7 separate regions of the Homo sapiens genome follow, and all the other regions are linked to region 4. Evidence: promoter capture Hi-C in 16 types of primary human blood cells and fetal thymus (Javierre and others, 2016). All regions are on one chromosome and are shown on one strand. The core of a region is centred on a gene start or on the middle of the fragment in contact, and the rest is flanking DNA. Distances in the headings are between cores, read along the strand shown. Region 1 overlaps SLC44A3 (solute carrier family 44 member 3). Region 2 overlaps SLC44A3 (solute carrier family 44 member 3). Region 3 overlaps SLC44A3 (solute carrier family 44 member 3). Region 4 holds the start of ALG14-AS1 (ALG14 antisense RNA 1). Region 5 overlaps SLC44A3 (solute carrier family 44 member 3). Region 6 overlaps SLC44A3-AS1 (SLC44A3 antisense RNA 1). Region 7 has its middle 17 kb from the start of RWDD3.

Region 1 (2,700 bases), core at 123-2,622, 210 kb after region 4:
GCAGAGCCAGCCTGGGTTCCAGGTCATTTGATGGGAAACCTATGGAAAACTCTCTGTCTGACCCTGCTGCCTCCTTTCCAAGCTCACCCCTTTGTGTATCCCAAGTACACGGTGTATGCTGTGTGCAGTCCTGTGATTAAATCTTCTAACTGCAGCACAGACCTCGCGGGAAGTCCACTCCCTGCCAAAATCCAATATGGTTCTCTTCTATTGTACAGACTCTGGAGCTTCCAGACCACCTTAATGAACACTGGAGGTGACCAGGTCATCTGAGCTCTTTCCAACCTACCAGATTACCAAGGTTACCACAGTTTTCACTTTTTCCTATTGGATTTTAGTAATTACTGTCTTATTGCTGGTACCAGACAAATCCCAATGGACTACTAAATGTCATTGTTGGGTGGTGCAAGATGGGGGCTTGATATGACCTGCTGAAAAAAAATCCCCAAACAAGTCAGAATTTGTCAACTAGTCAAAAGAATGATTAACAGTCATTAGAAAAATAGCCCATCTGGGCAAAAATGATCAACCCAAGTTCACTCCTATTTTTTTTAATGCAGTAAAAAATAGTATTCATTCAACCATCTGACACAACTATTTGGGTGGCTCACGCCTATAATCCCAAAACCTTGGGAGGCCAAAGCAGGTGGATTGCTTGAGCCCAGGATTTCTAGACCAACCTGGGCAACACGGCAAAATCCTGTCTCTACAAAAAAATACAAAAATTAGCTAGGCATAGTGGCATGTGCAGCCCCAGCTACTGGGGAGGCTGAGATGGGAGGATCGCTTGAGCCCGGGAGGTTGATGCTACACTTGAGTCTGAGCAACAGATTGAGGCCCTGTCTCAAGAAAAACAAACAAACAAAAACCAACAAAAAACAAAACACAAAAACAAACAAACAACTATTTATGTACTGAGGACGCCCACACACAAAACTGGGCGCTAACTGAAGAGTGTGTCTGTCCCCGCTGAAGCTGCCTGTGGGACGTGGAATGAGACAATCGGGCACTGTGCAGCGGGCTCGCCACCCGATCACCTGGCGCCTCTTCATAAGAGGTGAAAGCGGCTCAGAGTCCCTCTCAAGTGTTAGCTGGGGCATCTTCTGAAGATCAAAAAGTGATTCAGCTGCTGATCTGCCCAGCCGCAGAGCCAGGCTCTCTGGCACTGGTGAAAAGGCCTCTGAGAACAAAGGGGACCCTGTGCACCTGGGTCGGCCACAGGCAGGTGGAAGGAGGGGACGGGTGATTTGGTTTCTATGATGCCTGACCCCAGCGGGGTGGGGAAGGGGGGTGGTGGCTCTGCGTAGCACCTTCTCTCCTGAGAAGCCTAAAATCGACCTGCTCATAGATGCCTCCCATAGGTCCGGGGCACCCAGTTTCCTTTCTGGCCCCTCTACTGTTCTCGCTGTTTGCTGCTTGCACTAACAGTGAATCGTCACACTTCACTGTGTGATCCTGAGAGGTGGCTGCAGAATGACACGCTACCTTCAGCCCTGAAGAATAACCTCCAGGTCTCTCTTGCAGTGGAGGCTACTAAGCCCTGGGCCCAACCTAGACCTAGTCAGGGGCACAGGCTGGCAGTTAAGGGGCACAGGCTGGCAGTTCATGCCCAAGTCAGCCTTGGGGCTTGCTCCTTTCTGACTTCACTGGCCTGGGCTCTTCCCTTGACCTCTGTGGCCAGGTCCTCTCCTTGTGCTGCCTTGACTTCTGCTGCATCCCCCTTTGCCTCTTTCTGTATTTTCTGACCTGGCGATTTCCAGCCTGCCCTCTAAGAAGCCCTCCCTGACTCACAGCATGGGTTACGGCCTTGTTCTGGTGTTCCCATAGCTCCCCAGATTTCTCTGATCATCACATCCATCAATCTTCACTGCGATCACACGTTTCATTGTTGGACCATCCTGCTTGACTATAAGTACTGAGGGCAGAGAGTCGACCTCAATCCTGTTCCCTACCTCTCCCTAGTGCCGTGCTCAGCGCCTCATCCCCACAGTGCCCACCAAATACTTCTGAATTAAATTAAAACCATCCCTGCTCCAAAACATCATGGGGTCTAGCCACAGACACAGTTCCCCTTATCCAGATTCACAGCCAACAAGGGGCCCCCTGGCTGGGCCAGCTGCACCTAAGGAGGTGGGAAGAGGAGGGTCCTTCACTGGTCCTGAGCCATATTTCCTAAGACCTCACTGTTTCTCTGATGATTCTCTAGAGGCTAGGGTTCAAGCCCTACAGTGCTGCTGCCCAGGGCCACTGCCACCACCTCCATCACACCTCATCCCCAGCTGGCTCTAGCTGTCAACCTCCAGCCCCAGACACATTATGGGCACAGCCCACATCCACCAGCCAACTGCTGTGGTCCCTGATACAGCTTCATTCTGAGCAAACTTGAAGAGGCCTATTTTTTTTTTTTTTTGAGACAGAGTCTCACTCTGTGGCCCATGCTGGAGTGCAGTGGTGTGGTCTCAGCTCACTGCACCCTCCGCCTCCCGGGTTCATGCTATTCTCCTGCCTCAGCCTCCCGAGTAGCTGGGACTATAGGCGCCCGCCACCACGCCCGGCTAAGTTTTCTGTATTTTTAGTAGAGACGGGGTTTCACCGTGTTAGCCAGGATGGTCTCGATCTCATGACCTCATGATCCGCCCGCCTTGGCCTCCCAAAGTGCTGGGATTACAGGCGTGAGCCACTGCACCCGGCCTAAAGAGG
Region 2 (2,700 bases), core at 138-2,637, 180 kb after region 4:
GAGAAATGGGAAACAGGTCTGGAAGAGTCGGGGGTCAGCCCTCGGTGGGTGGGGCTGATGCAGAGTGTGGAGCAAGAGCAGTGAAAGGAAGTTTCAGGAGGACTCACGATTTTCAGCCTGTGCCTCTGGAAGCTCTCCCAGGCTGCCCTGGGGAAGTTCAGGTCAGATCTCCCTCATCACCATCTTCTGCTGAGCCACGAAGCTCTGCACCTTCCAAGGCTCATTCCTATTCAAGCCTAGGAGACTCCCCAAGCACCTCCACAATGCCTACGGGGCTCTGCTGGAGTTGGGTGGAAATGCTGTGGTGGCCATGCAGCCATTGAGCACACCGACCCGCCAGCAGTCATAAGCCAGGGGCTAGGCCCAAAGACCGTGAGTTCTTCTTGGGAGAAAATAGGAGTATTAGGAATAGTAACTCCTCCAGGCACTCTGGCTCCCCTCCACCCCCACCTCGGTGGATGCCTTAGTGATATATCCCAAATGCCTTGGCACAGACCTAATGATAGCTACAACTTTCTAATTTCCATCTGTGGCCTTTTTCTTTTCCAGTCAGTAGGCAGGTGTGCAACTTCTGTGTGTAAATAAATAATAACGCTAATAATAAATAATAATGGCATTAATCTTGCATGTACTATGTGCCAGGCTCTATGCTACCTCTCCCCGAACACATTCACTCATTTAGTCCTCTTAACTCCAACCCGATGAGGTAGTTAAGGAAACTAAAGCACAGAGAGGTAAAGTAGTGTGCCCCCGGTTCCACGCGTGTCATAGATGTTGCGTCCATCTTCCATGAAGTGGACCTCTAACTCGTTCAGGCCCATCTGCTGGAAAACTTTACTTTGAGCTGTACTTTGTGCTTTTTCTCCTGGAAAGTTCAAAATAACAAAGTGGTGTTCTCATGAGATGCACCATTGAAAACAGCTGAGGATGTGGCAGGATGGCTTAGTGGAAAGAGGCTGGATTCCAGTCATGTTGCCTCCAAAGACTTGCGGAACGGCTTCCACCAAATCACGTCACTTCTCAAGGGCCCTCACTTTGCTGCTTGGAAAAGACTTCCACCAACTCCAATGTTCCATGATGCTTTATGTTTGTGCTTCGTGGCCAGTCACCCTCGGATCATCGTCTCATTAGATCTCATCTGTTTTCACCACAACTCAGTGAAATAATCACCATGGGTGGTATTATTCCCTGCTGCCTCTTTTTTTTTTTTTTTTTTTGAGAGGGAGTCTCACTCTGTCGCCCAGGCTAAAGTGCAATGGCGCGATTGTATTCCTGTGGTCAATTGATTCTGCTGCCTCAGCCTCCTGAGTAATTGGGACAACAGGCACCCACCACGCCTGGCTAATTTTTGTATTTTTAGTAGAGACAGGGTTTCACCATGTTGGCCAGGCTGGTCTCAAACTCCTGACCTCATGTGATCTGCCTGCCTCGGGCTCCCAAAGTGTTGGGATTATAGGCGTGAGCCACTGCGCCTGGCCGGTATTATTCTCATTTTATAGAAAATTGTAATTATTGAAGAAAATGAGATTTAAGTGTCCTTTTAGGTAAGAGAAAATCTAGATTACCTATTTAAGTTACTGTGAGAGCTATCCAAGAACGTTAATTGCAGCTTTAACATAGAAAGAGCGTTTTTTTACTCCTGAAATCAAACGCTTAGCCAGCACAGCTCAGCCTTTTGTCCATCATGCTGAGTCTGTCCTCTCACTGAACTGAACTGCTTTCTTCTTTTGGTGGCAGAACTGTGAACCTGGGTTTCTGCCGACTCTTCAAAAAGGTAAACAGAGTTTCCCTCCGTAGTGGAGGGAAGGTATTTGCCAAAAACCATGCCATGAATAGCCAGCTTTATTTCTGGAATGCCTTCCTCACAGAGTTCCGATATTTATTCTCAAAGCAAGAACTACTAAAACAAACTTGAGAAACTGAACAGTGAATAAATAACACTGGCATTCATACTTTCCTCAGAACTGAAAAAAAATACAGTGAAATCCGAGTCCAGATACATCCCCATACATCCAGGGGCCTTCCTTGGACCTACAGTAAAACTGGCAGGAACCGTCCCAGACCAGTTTCATCTTGAGCCCTGTTTTTATCACAAACACATGTGGAGTGAGGCAGTGCACAGCCTCTGGGCCTTCCAGGGCCCTGCATTCACCGTTCAGATCCCTTCAGGAATGCACCGGTCACCAGGATGCAAACAAACATCCAATGAGATGGTGAGGAGGGAAAGCAGCCAGTCCCCTGGGGCTGCAGCCAGGTGGGAGGTGGGGTGGAAGAAGGAAGGACAAACATGAGAGCTGCCTATGAAGCCACGAACAGGGTCGTGCTATTTTGTTTGCTCTTTTAAAACTTTTCTTTTTGCTTAATTTTTAGAATGGCTTTATTATTTCCATGTTAATCTTAAAAAAATCAAACAACACAGAGACAAAGAAGCAAGAAGGCCACTGTGATCCCACCCCTTAGAAATAACCACTGCTAACATTGCTTGGCCTTCACCCCAGCACCCCTCTGTGAATATACACAGAGGAAGAAAGGCAGGCTGGATACACTGAGCATGCGCTACGATAATGAACTCATACTCTCCATGGTATTTTAAATAAAAGGACAAATGCTCATTTGACTTCAACAAACGAAAATGAAACTAAACTGACACTGAAGGGATACCCAAATTTCAGACAAATTGCACCTTCACACACAAGACGT
Region 3 (2,766 bases), core at 213-2,712, 190 kb after region 4:
CATTACTTCCATTGACACAGCTTTTAAAAGGAGTCGTCACCTTCACAATGGTCATTAAGGTGTGGTTAACATTAATGTCACTTATGAGTTTGGAAACATTTTGAATTACCAAGGGAAATGGTCCTGGATTAATTAAGGTGGTGAAAGTTCAGAAGGCAGGAAAATACGTATCTCAGGATAACAGGGCAGAGGAAACAAATGTGAAAATGGGACCAGAGGTTTTCAAATGTGTTTCAGCAGCAGAGACCTGTCCTCAAATGAAACCTTCAGTACACTCCCACACTCCCACCCCTAAACCACATAAAGTGGAGCTGCTCAGGCCGCAAGGCCAGGCAGTATAGGCATGGTATATGGGGCCAGGGCCCACCCTTCCTCCACCTCAGCCATTTCTCTGCCCTCCTAATGTGGTGGTCCCCACAGTGTCCACAGGAGCCTCTAGGCTTCCAGGGGCCAGTATGAAAACCATGAGTGAAAGAGGGATGCGGAAAGTACCTGAATTCCCGTAGTACAGTGAGAGGGGATAACAGGTCAACCCTCGGGCCTTGTAGGGCCATATGGCCAACATATTTGTATATCAATGGTCCCATTCATTGCTTTTGTCTTTCTAGTCTATCTATATGTTTCTTAGACTTTATTTTTCATGCATATATATTTTATCATAGTTAATACATTTTTGCAATGCATCTCAAAATATTTATGAAGTTGCCGTCTGGATATATACACAATAGCTATAACATCTTACACCACGACAAATGTATTCAAACGGTTTGGACTGACTTGTTATATGTTCCCCCCCATTCTGAAAGGTCCTATGGTATTTGATTGTGTTTTATACATGCTGGCTTATAGCAATCCAAATGAAAACTAAATATACTCTAAAATGTTCTCCAAGTTTAAGAGCCTAAAAATAGACCTTACTATAAGAAGGCTACATTTTTCCCTGAATAATGAAAAGTATTCTAAATACCCCTTAAAAGACATTAAACATAGGTGGTCTAATTAGTCCCTTTACTTCTAAAGGTACATTTCTTTGGGAGGGGGCAATTATAAGAAATACTTTTCTAAGTGAGATTTCTGTGAACATTTAAATTATAAAACAGTTTGCTAACTTACAAAAATACTGCTTTGTGTAAATTTGACTAAGGACTATTAAAATCTCCTAAATGCTCTATAGAGAAATACAACATATTTAAATTTCCATCAATTTGAAAAATTCAGGAAAGGAAAAAAATCTGAAATCCAAACAATTGCAAGATATAATTTTTATAATTTTAAAGGCATATTTACAGCTTGAAAAGGAAAGACTGGTGAAATCTATGAAAATTAGGGAGGCAATTCTTTTCCTAGTTCAGGAAAATTATAGTTCTTAGAGAAGACACTGAAAATTAGCTCTTAGTTGATATATATTCATTATGCTTAGGGTTTCTAAATACTCCCTTCCCTCTTTATTTCTGAAAAGAGAAAAACTTTCTTTTAGAATTTGAAGCATGGCTTTAAAGGCCTATGGTTCTAGGGTAGGGTATGCAAACTACAGCTCAGGAGCTAGCTCCATCACACCGCCCACTTTTCTCTGGCAGGAGCTAAGAACAATTTTTACAATTTTACAATGGTTGAGAAAAAATCAAAATCAAAAAAAGAAAATTTCTTGACATGTAAAAATCATATGAAATTCAAATTTCAGTGTTGATAAGTTAAGGTTCATTAGAACATAGCCACATCCATCCCATTGACATTTTACCTATGGCTGCTTTCCTGCCATGATGGCAGAATTGAGTGGTTGTGACAGAGAGACTGGTCTGAAAGCCTAAAATGTTTACACAATTTAGCCCCTTAGAGAAGAATTTGCCAAACCTTGACCTAAGAGATGAAGCCCACCTTTGGACCCTTCTGTGTGTTCCTGAGGCAAGAGGTAGAGACGTACCTGGTTGAGATGGAGCAGGTATTTGTCAAGACACCAGAAACAGCAGTAGCAGCATCGGAACAGGTACCTGGACAATGCACCATGCTGCTGGATCAGGTTGAGAACAAAGGAACAGAGTCAAAAACAACACAGGAAAGAAGAAAAGCAGGCAGTTTCTGAGGAAACACAGTTTTTACTTATGCACCTGGGGAAACACTGGTGGCGTGGGAGAAGTTCTATTGTGTGCATACTACTACTACTAATTATGGTTCTAGTATTACTGAGGAGCAACATTTCTGTCTTGTGGACTTACGTGTTAGGGGTGCTATTAGGGAGGTTAGTCCATACTGAACAGCAAAACAAAAGCAGGCCTTCTGGTTCCAGTAAAAAAAAAAACCTCTCTTCCCCCTTCATCTGCCCTTAAGTGTCTGAAATGGTACACTTTGCTTTTTCAAACCAAAGTTTATATTCACGAAAAATCCACATCCCAGAAACAAAAAAAACAAATAATACACTGTAGGTACTAGTTATGTGCCCACATAAATAAAGAATCAAGTTTAACTCTGGAGGAAATAAATCCTGTAGTGAGATTTTTTTCAGGACTAAATTTCGAGGGATAAATTACTCCTTTGAAATATAACTTGAACTTGTGCATAGCTTAAGAATGAATACTTTAATGAACCTCTTGGGGGAAGGGTGCTCGGAGGCATCCTACCCACTCTCCAGAGTGAACACATCCCTGAAAACAATCCTGAAATAGCCTAGGATGAGGACCCCAGGAATAACTCAGCCTTATATGGACATTTTCTCATCCCAATGTGAATTCAATTGGATGAAACTTGATCTGGACACTTTTCAGCCTGGCT
Region 4 (2,700 bases), core at 150-2,649:
CAGAATGGCGATTATTAAAAAGTCCAGAAACAACAGATGTTGGTGAGGTTGTGGAGAAAAAGGAATGCTTTTACAGTATTGGTGGGAATGTAAATTAGTTCAACCATTGTGGAAGATAGTGTGGCGATTCCTCAGAAATCTAGAGGCAGAAATACCACTTGACCTAGCAATCCCATTGCTGGGTATATACCCAAAGGAATGTAAATCATTCTGTTGTAAAGATACATGCACACATATGTTCACTGCAGCACTATTCACAATAGCAAAGACATGGAATCAACCCAAATGCCCATCAATGATAGAATGGATAAAGAAAATGTGGTACATATACACTATGAAATACTATGCAGCAATAAAAAGGAACAAGATCATGTCCTTTGCAGGGATATGGATGGAGCCAGAAGCCGTTATCCTCAGCAAACTAATGCAGGAACAGAAAACTAAATACTACACGTTTTCACTTATAAGTAGGAGCTGAACAATGAGAATACATGGGTACATATGGGGGAACAACACACATTGGGGCCTGTTGAAGGGAGGGGTTGGGGGAGGTAGAGCATCAGGAAGAATAGTTAGTGGATGCTGGACTTAATACCTAGGTAATGGATTAATTTGTGCAGCAAACCACCATGGCACACGTTTACCTGTGTAATAAACCTGCACATCCTGCACACATACCCTGGAACTTAAAAGTTGAAGGAAAAAAAATGGTTGCTTAATTTTTTGCATATTTTTTATTCTTTTAAATAGAGAAAGCAGTTTTTCGTTGAATTCCAATAGTGAAAATTATTTTATTTTTACTTACATACACGAAGCATCCTGTTCATGTGCTTATTGGCTCTTCATTAAAGCTCTCTATCAATGTGTTACGTTTATTGATAATTTGATTTATCTATGACTGCTGTTTCTTCTCCAAATCATACTTGTGTCTGCCTTTGAAATTATTAGTACTTCTTTACCCCTGGTTGCTCACTTCATTATAGCATTTTAGTCAGTGTTTAGAGATTTTTTTTTTTAAGTGAAACTACTTCTTAATTAAGGAAGGAAACTAGAGCTGTTCCTTATGTAGAGTGAGTGCCTTTATCCATCCCTCTCTCTGGGAACGGCCCAGCTGCAGGGCTGCTCTGGATAGTTCAGGGGTGGACAGCTGGCCTAACTCAGACCAATCGAAGTCTTTCTCTGAGCTTTCTGGGCTTGGAGACCTAGAGAATGGAATCAGTCTGTCTTCAGGCAAGCTCTGTAAATGATAAAGCTTGAAAGCTGCTGACAGTCATGTTTTCACTTAGAAGATAAAGGTAGTCTATAGATAGAAGAATGAAGATAATGTACAGGAAGAGAGGAGAAGCCAGTGTCTGGTGCTGCCTTCAGTGGCTCAAGAGGCCCTGCTATAGCTGTGTTGGTCCTGGATTGGTGGTTCTTTTCTTGGGAAATCAGGACCCACTCCTAGAACCCTACCCCACTCCCTTTGTTCCCACCTTTGTGACATACGCACACTCTCTCTCTCTCTCTCTCTCAAGGCTGTTTGTGTTAACTTTTGGTCATTTGTAAACCTTATCCCCAACTAACATACTACTAAAATGTATTCTCAAAAAATCCACGTCAAACAAGATTGGTATATAAATCTGCTTGCTATCATTCAGCTATAGCAAAATGTGTGGTACTTTTTTTCCTCTGTGGAAAATAAGCCAAAGTGATTTCGTTTTTGTTTTAGGAATCAATACTGTATTAGTTTCTTAGGGTTGCTGTAACAAAACTGGGTTTTTGCCACCCATAAACTGGGTGGCTTAAAATAACAGAAATGTATTTTCTCATAGCTCTGAAGGGTAGAAGTCTGAAATCAAGGTGTCATGGGGCCATACTCCCTCCGGAGGTTCTGAAGAAGAATCCCTCCTTGCTTCCTCCTGGCTTCTAGTGGTGGCCAGCAATGCTTGGCCTTCCTTAGCTTGCAGCTACGTCACTCTAATCTCGGCTTCCACCATCATATGACCTTTTCTGTATCTCTGTCTTCACATGCCTTTTTTATGAGGATACCGGTTGGATTTAGGGCCCACTCTAATTCAGAAGGACCTCATCTTAACTTGATCATATCTGCAGTGCTCTTATTTCTAAATAAGGTCACATTCATAGATTCCAGGTGGACATGAATTTTAGGGGGACAGTAGTTATATACTGTGCATCACAACACTTAGAACCAAGTAAGTTGGGTTTGCTTCACATTAATAGTCTTAACTATAAAAATATTTTGGATTTTTATTTTTATTTATTTGTTGTTTTTTTTTTAAACAGAGTCTCACTTTGTCACCCAGGCTGGAGTGCAGTCGTGTGATCTCAGCTCACTGTAGTCTCCACCTCCCAGGTTCAAGCGATTCTCCTGCCTCAGCCTCCTGAGTAGCTGGGAGTACAGGTGCCTACTATCATGTCTGGCTATTTTTTTTTTTTTTTAATAGAGACAGGGTTTCACCATGTTGGCCAGGATGGTCTCGATCTCCTGACCTCGTGATCTGCCCACCTCAGCCTTCCAAAGTGCTGGGATTACAGGCGTGAGCCACTGTGCCCAGCCAGATTTTGGATTTTTATAGTGCCATTATTTTGTATTTTCGAAGTGCAATGTAGGACTAAGCATCTCTGTTCAACTTCCTTTTACTAACAGTCGCCTACTGGGGCAATGCAGCCACTGTTAGAGAGAAAATTCTGCTCCAT
Region 5 (2,700 bases), core at 85-2,584, 230 kb after region 4:
ATATATTTTTGTATATTTAGAGATGGGGATTCACCACGTTGGCCAGGATGGTCTCCATCTCCTGACCTCGTGATCCGCCTGGCTCAGTCTCCCAAAATGCTGGGATTGCAGGTGTGAGCCACCATGCCCGGCCAAAGTAAATGATTTCTACTTTGCAATAAATAATTGGAGTAGAAAAAAATACACACTAATTTATAAAATCACCCCGTTAGTAATAATTCATAAGTTACTTCTTGCTAGCTCTAGTGTTCTTTGAAGACTACGTGTATTTTTATTGCTTGCTGAGTTTTCTCCTTATTTAGCCTGATTTCTAATCCACTGTCCATAGGCATACTGCAAATAGTCCCTCCATGTTTTTATCGCTGGCCTCCGTAGACTGTAAGCTCCCTGCAGGCAGGGGCTCTTCTGATATCTCCTTCCCACAATGCCTAGAAGAGTAACAGATGCACACCAAGTACCCAGTAACTTTTGTTTAGAGTTAAGGAAAAAGTATGGAAGCTTTTACCTTGGAGGAACTGGTAGCCTGGGACACAGTGAGTCTGCTTTTGGACTGTGGGTATAGTTGAAGGAATTCAAACTATAAACACACAGGAAGGACCCTGGAAGCAGAACACACAGACATTATACCTTCTTTCCAGGTGAGTCAGTAAGGAAACCACAGCCATGTTACCAAACCAGAAAGGAGAAAGAATCAACTACAAGGTCTATGGGTGACAGAAACACAAAAGTAATAGGCATACAATCTGAGGTCTAGTGAGGGCCTCTCTTCCTTACTTTCTCTTCAAAACCCCAAATTCAAAACTAAAAGTTATATGATTGGTCCTAAAATAATCTGAAGCATATTTGAAAACAATTTCTTGTAGAAGCTTGATAGTTTAAACCTGGCTTTGCAAATAATTTTTAAAAATCTGGCAAACCATTTCTCAGACAGATAAAATTCTAAACAGTGGACCCAGTACAAGGTATTTTAGTTATACAAGTGCTTCTGGTACAACTTGTGACATCCCACTGCTCAGTGGAAGTATCTATTGGCCCCAAAAATCTCATGAAAAGACCAATTTGTCAGCAATTCTACGCGCAGCCTGCACGTACATCTCTAGGACCGGATGTGCCCACGTGCATGGAGCTCTCTGCCTTCCTTCTGACACCGCCTTTGGGTCTTAAATGTGGGCTGTCTCCTCTCTCTCTCTGTGGATGACCATTCCCTGCAGTGGCAGGGAGCATACACGGAATAGCTAGGGCTTCAGATAAATCCAGATAGAAAAAAAATAACCTGAACAAGCTCAAGAGAAAATGCTTACGGCCTTTTCCACACAAAAAGAGGCACCCACAAGGAAGTAAAACTTCCAGCTTTCCAGAGAAAGCAGAGTCAGGGTAAATGATCTCATCTAGGTCCCCACAGCTTACCCCATCATGGGGAAAAGAACAAACCAGGCCTTAGTGCCTACCACTGGTGTTTGCAAAGAACTGGACCTCTTCCAGGGAGTCAAGCTGCTCTTCAGGGCAGTTGGATACACAGAGGGCCATGCGGTTGAGCTGCGTACCTTTGACTTCCAGGTTGCAGGAATTCATAAAGAACACGTGTCTAGGAAATAGATGAAACAGAAGAATGTGTTAGAGCATTGCTTCTCACTGGTCTTAATTGTGGGCCTTAAAAAATATCCACATGCTATCAAATGCAGGGATCACCCAGGCACACTTTCATAATTGTTTCAGCATAATTGAACATTTATGATGCCTACTGGTGGTCATCCATGAAGCTGTGCAGCTTGGAAACTATCCAAAAACATTAACAAAGCTTTATTTCTCCAGATTTAGTGTTGTCTAGGGGATAGCACTAGGGAGTTACCTGAGAAAATCTGAGGAAAAGAAGCAATTGGTTAAACTGTCCATTGATTGCTAGATCAGGCCAATGCACAAACTATTCAATGGACTCCACGGAGAACACATTTGTACCCAAGAGTGTTCAAATATGCTTCAGAGAATAACTGAACACAGGGAAGTGAGAAGTGGAAAGGAGGGGGCCAAGGCTGGGAACCAAAGGCTTGTCTTTTCCCCCTTCTCCCAGGTTGAGAGCCAGGACACTCAGGAGAACCCTCCTGCAGCTCCCCAGGGGCAGGGCAGAGGGGGGACAAGAATGAAACTGGTGTTGCCATCAGCAGGTTATGCGCTAGCAGCTACAGCTTCCAAACCCTTGCCTACCACTTATCCAGGCTCCAAGACCCCAGGAATGGCAGAGGAAGACCCCGTAGGCTGCCCTTTATGGGAGAGACCTTGAGAAGGGGTCCCAGAAGGTTTTTTTCCCTCCTGTTGGGGATGGGAGAAAGGTGGTGCAACAGGAGATGAGGAACAGATTTCCTGGGTGTGTGATATACATATTTTTGAAGAAGTTTAAAAATTGTGTTAAAATATACATAAAATTTACCATCTGAATCTTTCTTTTTTTTTTTTTTTGAGACAGAGTCTCGCTCTGTCACCCAGGCTGGAGTGCAATGACACTGCCACCTCTGCCTCCCAGGTTCAAGTGATTCTCCTGCATCAGCCTCCTGAGTAGCTGGGACTACTGGTGCCTGCCACCACACCTGGCTAATTTTTGTATTTCTAGTAGAGACAGGGTTTCACCATGTTGGCCAGGCTGGTCTTGAACTCCTGACCCTGTGGATCTGCCCGCCTTGGCCTTCCAAACTGTTGGGATTACAG
Region 6 (2,700 bases), core at 7-2,506, 250 kb after region 4:
TTCTCTGTGTGTTTCTTCATCCTATACCTCACATTCCCCTCCTGCCCATCTGTTCCTAACTTTCTCATGATTTTCATGTTTGTCTTATATTCTAATCTGCATCTCTTCCAAAGGCCTTTGGCACCTTTTTCTAAAACTTCTAGGTGCTCTCTGAAGATGTTGAGATCTTGCTTCTGTCCCAATCTGGTCACACAAAGATGCAGTTAGGGCCACTCAGGTTGCCTGCTTTGCTTTCAAGTGTCTGACTATTACCTCTTTGGGGCAGGTCTCCCAGATGCAGACTGAAGCTTGACCTAAGCTTCAGCCTGTGAATCTTATTGACACTGTACTTTGGGGCCAGCACTAAGAAAGGCCAGAACTTCCCACCCTTCATCCCACTTTTCCCAGGCTTCCTTACCCTCCTCATCAGCTCCTGTGGCTGAGTTCCCACCATGCTTTGGGCCTGATGCCCTCTGGATAAAATACCATGATGTTAGACTCTGATGGAGCAATTTCTCGTCCCAGACTAAGAAGGGGCTCACCTTACAAGAGTCAGTTATCAGAGGCTCCAGTGCGGGCAGGATCACTGACTCAGAAGGACCAGATCCTTCCCCATCTTGCCTTTCCTGTCAGCCATGGGGGCTTGTACCTCAGACTGGAAGCCAGAGATGAGATGAAGGATGCAAGAGGTCTTGGGTCTTTGTACTTGGTCCAGAAATGGCCCAAGATATACTGGATAGATAAGGAGGCACTGGGGAGCACTTGGCTGAGACAGGGAGGGAGGTGGGGGGAAGGAAACCAAGCAAGGTGTGTGTGCAAAGGACTCCCAGCTCTTTAAATCTGGATCCTGGTCATTTCAGGATGAGGAAGTTTCAGCCTCAGAAGACCTTCTTTTCTCCTTGAAATCTTTGGATTAGAAATCTGGTCTCTGGGGGAACCTTGATTAATTTTAGCCTATCTTTATTCAACAGGGATTGACTCAGCACTTGCTTTGTGCCAGGACTTGGGCCAACTCAAGGGGCACGAACACCAAGAAGGAATATTTGCCCACTCCAGCGAGGTCAAGCTCAGTTGAGGGTTAATGATGAGGCAGGCTGATGCGGGTTCTTTGCCCAGTCCCAGGGTTCCAAGAAGCCTTCCTGGGAGAGGGGGCCTGAGTTGAATGGTGCAAGATGAACAAGAAATGGCAAGATAGAGAAAGGTGGGGAGGGCTTCCCAGGCAGAAGAGAGAGCATGGCTAAAGGGCTAGGGGCATGGAGCAGCAGGGGACCCCCAGCCATGTAGTATCACTGGAGGATGAAAATAAGGGGGAGAAGGAGGGAGGGAGAGAAGGTATACTTCTGAGGGCAGAACTAACTCAGCCGTTAGGGCCCAGCATGCCACACCAAGAAGCCGTTTGCCTTTCTGTGATTGTATCTTTCTCATTTGCTCCCACTTTGTAGAACAGCTTTTAGAAAATGCTACCCTGTCTTGGTTGTGCTCAAAGGACTGGAAGGAGAGGGGCTTGTGTTCCCCTTGTACCTCTGAAGAGCAGGGAGCAAGGGTAGGCTTGGTGGGGGCAGCAAGATTCCAGCAGGAAAATACTTTTTTTTTTTTTTTTTGAGATGAAGTTTCGTTCCGTTGCCCAGGCTGGAGTGCAATGGCACGATCTCAGCTTACTGCAACTTCCGCCTCCCAGGTTCAACTATTTCTCCTGCCTCAGCCTCCCAAGTAGCTGGGATTACAGGCATGCTCCACCACATCTGGCTAATTTTTGTATTTTTAGTAGAGATGGGGTTTTGTCATGTTGGCCAGGCTGGTCTCGAACTCCTGACCTCAGATAATCCACCTGCCTTGGCCTCCCAAAGTGCTGGGATTACAGGTGTGAGCCACCATGCCCAGCCCCAGCAGGAAAATTCTTATGGGGAGGTGAGGCAAGGGAACAGTATAGCCACCAGGCTCCCTTCTTAAATGTGTTCCTTGGAACACAGTCTCTCCTTTAGCCCTGAGGGACTTTCAGTTTGGTTAAAAAATATTTTTTAGTTACAAAAGATTATATATGTCACATTACATTATTTATGTTAATATATTCTTTTGCATATATCAAACATTGCATAATAAAAACTGTAGTACACATGGGGTATATACTAAGTTATAAGGCATAATGACATGAACACACCTAAACTCACTACCCAATTAAATAACTAGAATATTCCCATAATGCTTCTCCTTGGACACAACTCCTGCTAAGCTTTCAATCTCAGAGGTAACCACTGTTCTCAGTTTTGTTTACCCCCTTACTTAAACATACCTTTTTTTTTTTTTTTTTGAGACGGAGTCTCACTCTGTCACTCAGGCTGGAATGCAGTGGTGTGATCTTGGCTCACTGCAACCTCTGCCTCCTGGGTTCAAGTGATTCTTGTGCTTCAGCCTCCTGAGTAGCTGGGATTACAGGCACGCACCACCACGCCCGGCTAATTTTTGTATTCTTAGTAGAGACGGGGTTTTGCTGTGTAGGCTAGACTGGTTTCAAACTCCTGACCTCAGGTGATCTGCCCGCCTCGGCCTCCCAAAGTGCTGGGATTACAGGCATGAGCCACCGCGCCCAGCCTACTTAAACATACTTATTATTTTAGATTATTTCACTCCTTAAATAACATAATTTAGTTTGCTTTTTAGGGGATATTACAAAAAATGATGGTGTATGGTAGGGAGTCATCTGGAACTTTTTAACTCTACACT
Region 7 (2,700 bases), core at 173-2,672, 190 kb before region 4:
CTCAAGTGGCTCAGTTATCTATAGTAACTAGTCCTTCTGCACAGCTTCCTCTTTCTCAGTCCACACTGAGGATCTTGTGGGGAGTTCCGATAACTTGGTAACCACGGAAGAAATATTTCAGGCCTGATTTATGGGTGGTTCTTCACAATATTCTTCACTTTAGCAATTTTGACTCAAATGTGGAGTGTCTCTGAAAGATAGAAATCAAGAGAAATTTACGCAGTGGGTAGAACTTTGAGCAGTAATTCTGATTGTGTACCTTCTCTAGGTAAAGAGATGCCCTGAGGTATAGATTTACAGTATTTCATGAGCAGCAGCTAACAGGTTGACCAGGAGGTCACAGACTTTGAAGAACAAAATAAAAGGACTAATGAAAAGGAGATCTGGGACAGAGGTATAGGAATGGAGTTCTCAGGCTGAGCACAAAATGTGAGGATATTTGTGTCCCATGTGATGTTTTTCAAAGGGCAACCACCGCAGAGAAGGCCTCCATTAATCAAATAGATGAGTTGAATCCTCCAGTGGATGTTAGTCAGCCTCTTTCCCTAGCACCCCAGTGCTTGCTTAGTGGGCTCAGGTACAAAGTAAATACGGCAGCAGGGACGGAGGTTATTCATGGATTCAACAACATGAAATTCCCCTCACCAAGGGTGATCTTGCTAACCTGCTGAGTACCTAACCTGCTAAAAACAAAGACCCATAGTAAGCCACGAAAAAGGCCTCCCCTCCTAAAAAAACACCAGCTACCTGGTGGCTGATTAATTACATTGGACCCCTTCCCTAATGGAAGGGCCAGCAAATTGTCCTTACTAAACTGATACTTCTGGATATGAATCTGAAGTCCCTTCCTATAATACAACCAACTATGATCCTATAGACATGATATCCCTCACAATATAACTTCTGAATCAGAAACTCATTTCACAACAAAATAAATGTAGCAATGGATGAAATTCATAGGACTTTCCATGTACCTAATCATCCAGAAGTGGCTGGCTTGGTAGAATAATATAATGACCTGTTAAGACAGTTATGCTGGGTGTGGTGGCTCACGTCTATAATCACAGCACTTTGGGAGGCTGAGGCAGGCAGATCACTTGAGGTCAGGAGTTCAAGACCAGCCTGAACAACATAGTGAAACCCCATCTCTACTAAAAATACAAAAAAATAGCTGGGTATGGTGACATGCATCTGTAATCCCAGCTACTCAGGAGGCTGAGGCATGAGAATCACTTGAACCCAGGAAGCGGAGGTTGCAGTGAGCTGAGATCGCACCACTGCACTCCAGCCTGGGTGGCAAGCGAGACTGTCTAAAAAAAAAAAAAAAAACTCAGTTATTAGTCCTGGTGGGAGACAAGCCCCTGAGAGACTTCAGTGCTATTATACAAAATGTAGCATATAGTTTGAACCAGTGATCAGCATAGTTGTATTTCTCCCATTGCCAGAATACATGGGTCCAGGAATCAAGGGATAAAAATAGGACTGATTCCTCTCAGTAGTATACTTAATAACCCTCTCACAGAATTTCTAATTCTCATCCCTGTAAACTTGGACTATGCTAGTTTACAGGTCTTAGTTCACAAGGAAAGAATTCTTCTACCAAGGCACATAAAATGGTTCAAATGAATTGAAAATTGAGACTGATGCCTAGATATATTAGGTTTCTTATCACACTAAACTAAAAAACAAAGAAAGAGATCCCTGTATTGGCTGGGGTGACTGAACTAGATTATTATTACGGATATTGGGTTGCTGCTACACAATGAGGTCAAGGACCCCAGGGGAATCTCTGGATTGCCTCTTAAGACTTATTTAATAGTGAAAATTAATAAGCACCCCAACTACTAAAGACTCAGACCCATCCAGAATGAAGATTCAGCTACCCTACTAGGTAAAGAACACTTGCCAGCTGAAGTGCTGGCCAGGAGCAATGAAAAATTAAGTAGAGGAAGAAGTTACAAATATCAACTACAGCTTCATGACCAGTCAGAAACAAGTACCAAAGTAGTTATGTAAATGTGCTTCATTGCTTGTTCTAAATATCTTTGTATATAGTAACTATTTTTTTCCTTCCCCCTCTCAAGCCGTAGGAGTACAAGGAATGCCACTAATACTAATGATAGGGAACTTTACAGTTTAATCTTCAAGCTACAGAATATCTAGGTGGGATTGTGACTAAACTAGAAGAATTAACACCAATAAGAACAGTAGTAACTGGTGGGGCTGTTTCTCCCCTTTCTGAGGGAATGGTGAGTTTCATAAAGAACAGAGTTAAATCTACAAAGACAGAAGCATAAAACTGTTATTGCTGCATAGAAGTTTAAATATGGGTAGAAGGATGTGTGTGTGGATGCTTAATAGCTGAAAATAAGTGTCCTGGTTGGTTATTTTCTGTGGGCACTCAGCCCTCTCCCCATTTCACACACAGTCATCCTTCTATAGTCAGCTCTGTTCTCCTGAGGCTGAAATTCTGCAATCTACTTTCCCCAGACTTCCTTGCCAGCTTGGTTCCTGTTAGGCTTGTCAATAGAAGGCACTTCTGGGAGATCAGAAGGTAGCACAGATAGCACTGTGATCCTTGTTGGCAGTTGGTATAGCAGCAACAGGGGTGGAGTGATTCCAGATTCAAATGGACCAGAGACAGTGCCTATTAGCAATTTTAGCTCTGGTCTAGGCAGCATTTGAGCAGACTCCAATAGT

What was found. Contacts are between HindIII fragments. The CHiCAGO score rates a contact against its expected background, and 5 or more counts as called.
Region 1: a fragment that was not itself captured here is called in contact with the fragment with the promoter of ALG14-AS1 in region 4 in 17 of 17 cell types (naive CD4 T cells, total B cells, naive CD8 T cells and 14 more); the score reaches 13.5 in naive CD4 T cells.
Region 2: a contact is called between a fragment that was not itself captured here and the fragment with the promoter of ALG14-AS1 in region 4, in 2 of 17 cell types (total CD4 T cells and naive CD4 T cells). The highest score is 6.0, in total CD4 T cells.
Region 3: a contact is called between a fragment that was not itself captured here and the fragment with the promoter of ALG14-AS1 in region 4, in 13 of 17 cell types (total B cells, naive B cells, naive CD8 T cells and 10 more). The highest score is 11.9, in total B cells.
Region 5: a contact is called between a fragment that was not itself captured here and the fragment with the promoter of ALG14-AS1 in region 4, in 14 of 17 cell types (total B cells, endothelial precursors, naive B cells and 11 more). The highest score is 10.1, in total B cells.
Region 6: a contact is called between a fragment that was not itself captured here and the fragment with the promoter of ALG14-AS1 in region 4, in 2 of 17 cell types (erythroblasts and endothelial precursors). The highest score is 7.4, in erythroblasts.
Region 7: a contact is called between a fragment that was not itself captured here and the fragment with the promoter of ALG14-AS1 in region 4, in 1 of 17 cell types (naive CD8 T cells). The highest score is 5.9, in naive CD8 T cells.

What each region holds. Positions count from the first base shown.
Region 1 is chr1:94,847,939-94,850,638 of GRCh38, reverse strand. All of the region lies in intron 9 of SLC44A3 (solute carrier family 44 member 3), which reads right to left. Among named protein-coding and RNA genes, the nearest start is that of SLC44A3, 29 kb to the right of the region's middle. The HindIII fragment of the contact is 5,359 bases long and covers 1-2,700 here.
Region 2 is chr1:94,883,742-94,886,441 of GRCh38, reverse strand. All of the region lies in intron 12 of SLC44A3 (solute carrier family 44 member 3), which reads right to left. Among named protein-coding and RNA genes, the nearest start is that of CNN3-DT, 41 kb to the left of the region's middle. RefSeq lists an enhancer at 1,289-2,175. The HindIII fragment of the contact is 5,313 bases long and covers 1-2,700 here.
Region 3 is chr1:94,866,573-94,869,338 of GRCh38, reverse strand. It overlaps SLC44A3 (solute carrier family 44 member 3), which reads right to left. Exons shown (of 15, transcript NM_001114106.3): 12 at 1,922-2,008. Among named protein-coding and RNA genes, the nearest start is that of SLC44A3, 48 kb to the right of the region's middle. RefSeq lists an enhancer at 2,480-2,766. The HindIII fragment of the contact is 7,895 bases long and covers 1-2,766 here.
Region 4 is chr1:95,060,295-95,062,994 of GRCh38, reverse strand. ALG14-AS1 (ALG14 antisense RNA 1) reads right to left here and starts at 1,399. Exons shown (of 2, transcript NR_132786.1): 1 at 806-1,399. All of the region lies in intron 2 of ALG14 (ALG14 UDP-N-acetylglucosaminyltransferase subunit), which reads left to right. The HindIII fragment of the contact is 7,319 bases long and covers 1,255-2,700 here.
Region 5 is chr1:94,826,392-94,829,091 of GRCh38, reverse strand. It overlaps SLC44A3 (solute carrier family 44 member 3), which reads right to left. Exons shown (of 15, transcript NM_001114106.3): 4 at 1,449-1,585; 5 at 506-599. Among named protein-coding and RNA genes, the nearest start is that of SLC44A3, 7.4 kb to the right of the region's middle. The HindIII fragment of the contact is 932 bases long and covers 869-1,800 here.
Region 6 is chr1:94,809,778-94,812,477 of GRCh38, reverse strand. All of the region lies in intron 1 of SLC44A3-AS1 (SLC44A3 antisense RNA 1), which reads left to right. Among named protein-coding and RNA genes, the nearest start is that of SLC44A3-AS1, 9.1 kb to the left of the region's middle. The HindIII fragment of the contact is 1,911 bases long and covers 301-2,211 here.
Region 7 is chr1:95,249,976-95,252,675 of GRCh38, reverse strand. No RefSeq gene overlaps it. Among named protein-coding and RNA genes, the nearest start is that of RWDD3, 17 kb to the right of the region's middle. The HindIII fragment of the contact is 8,842 bases long and covers 1-2,700 here.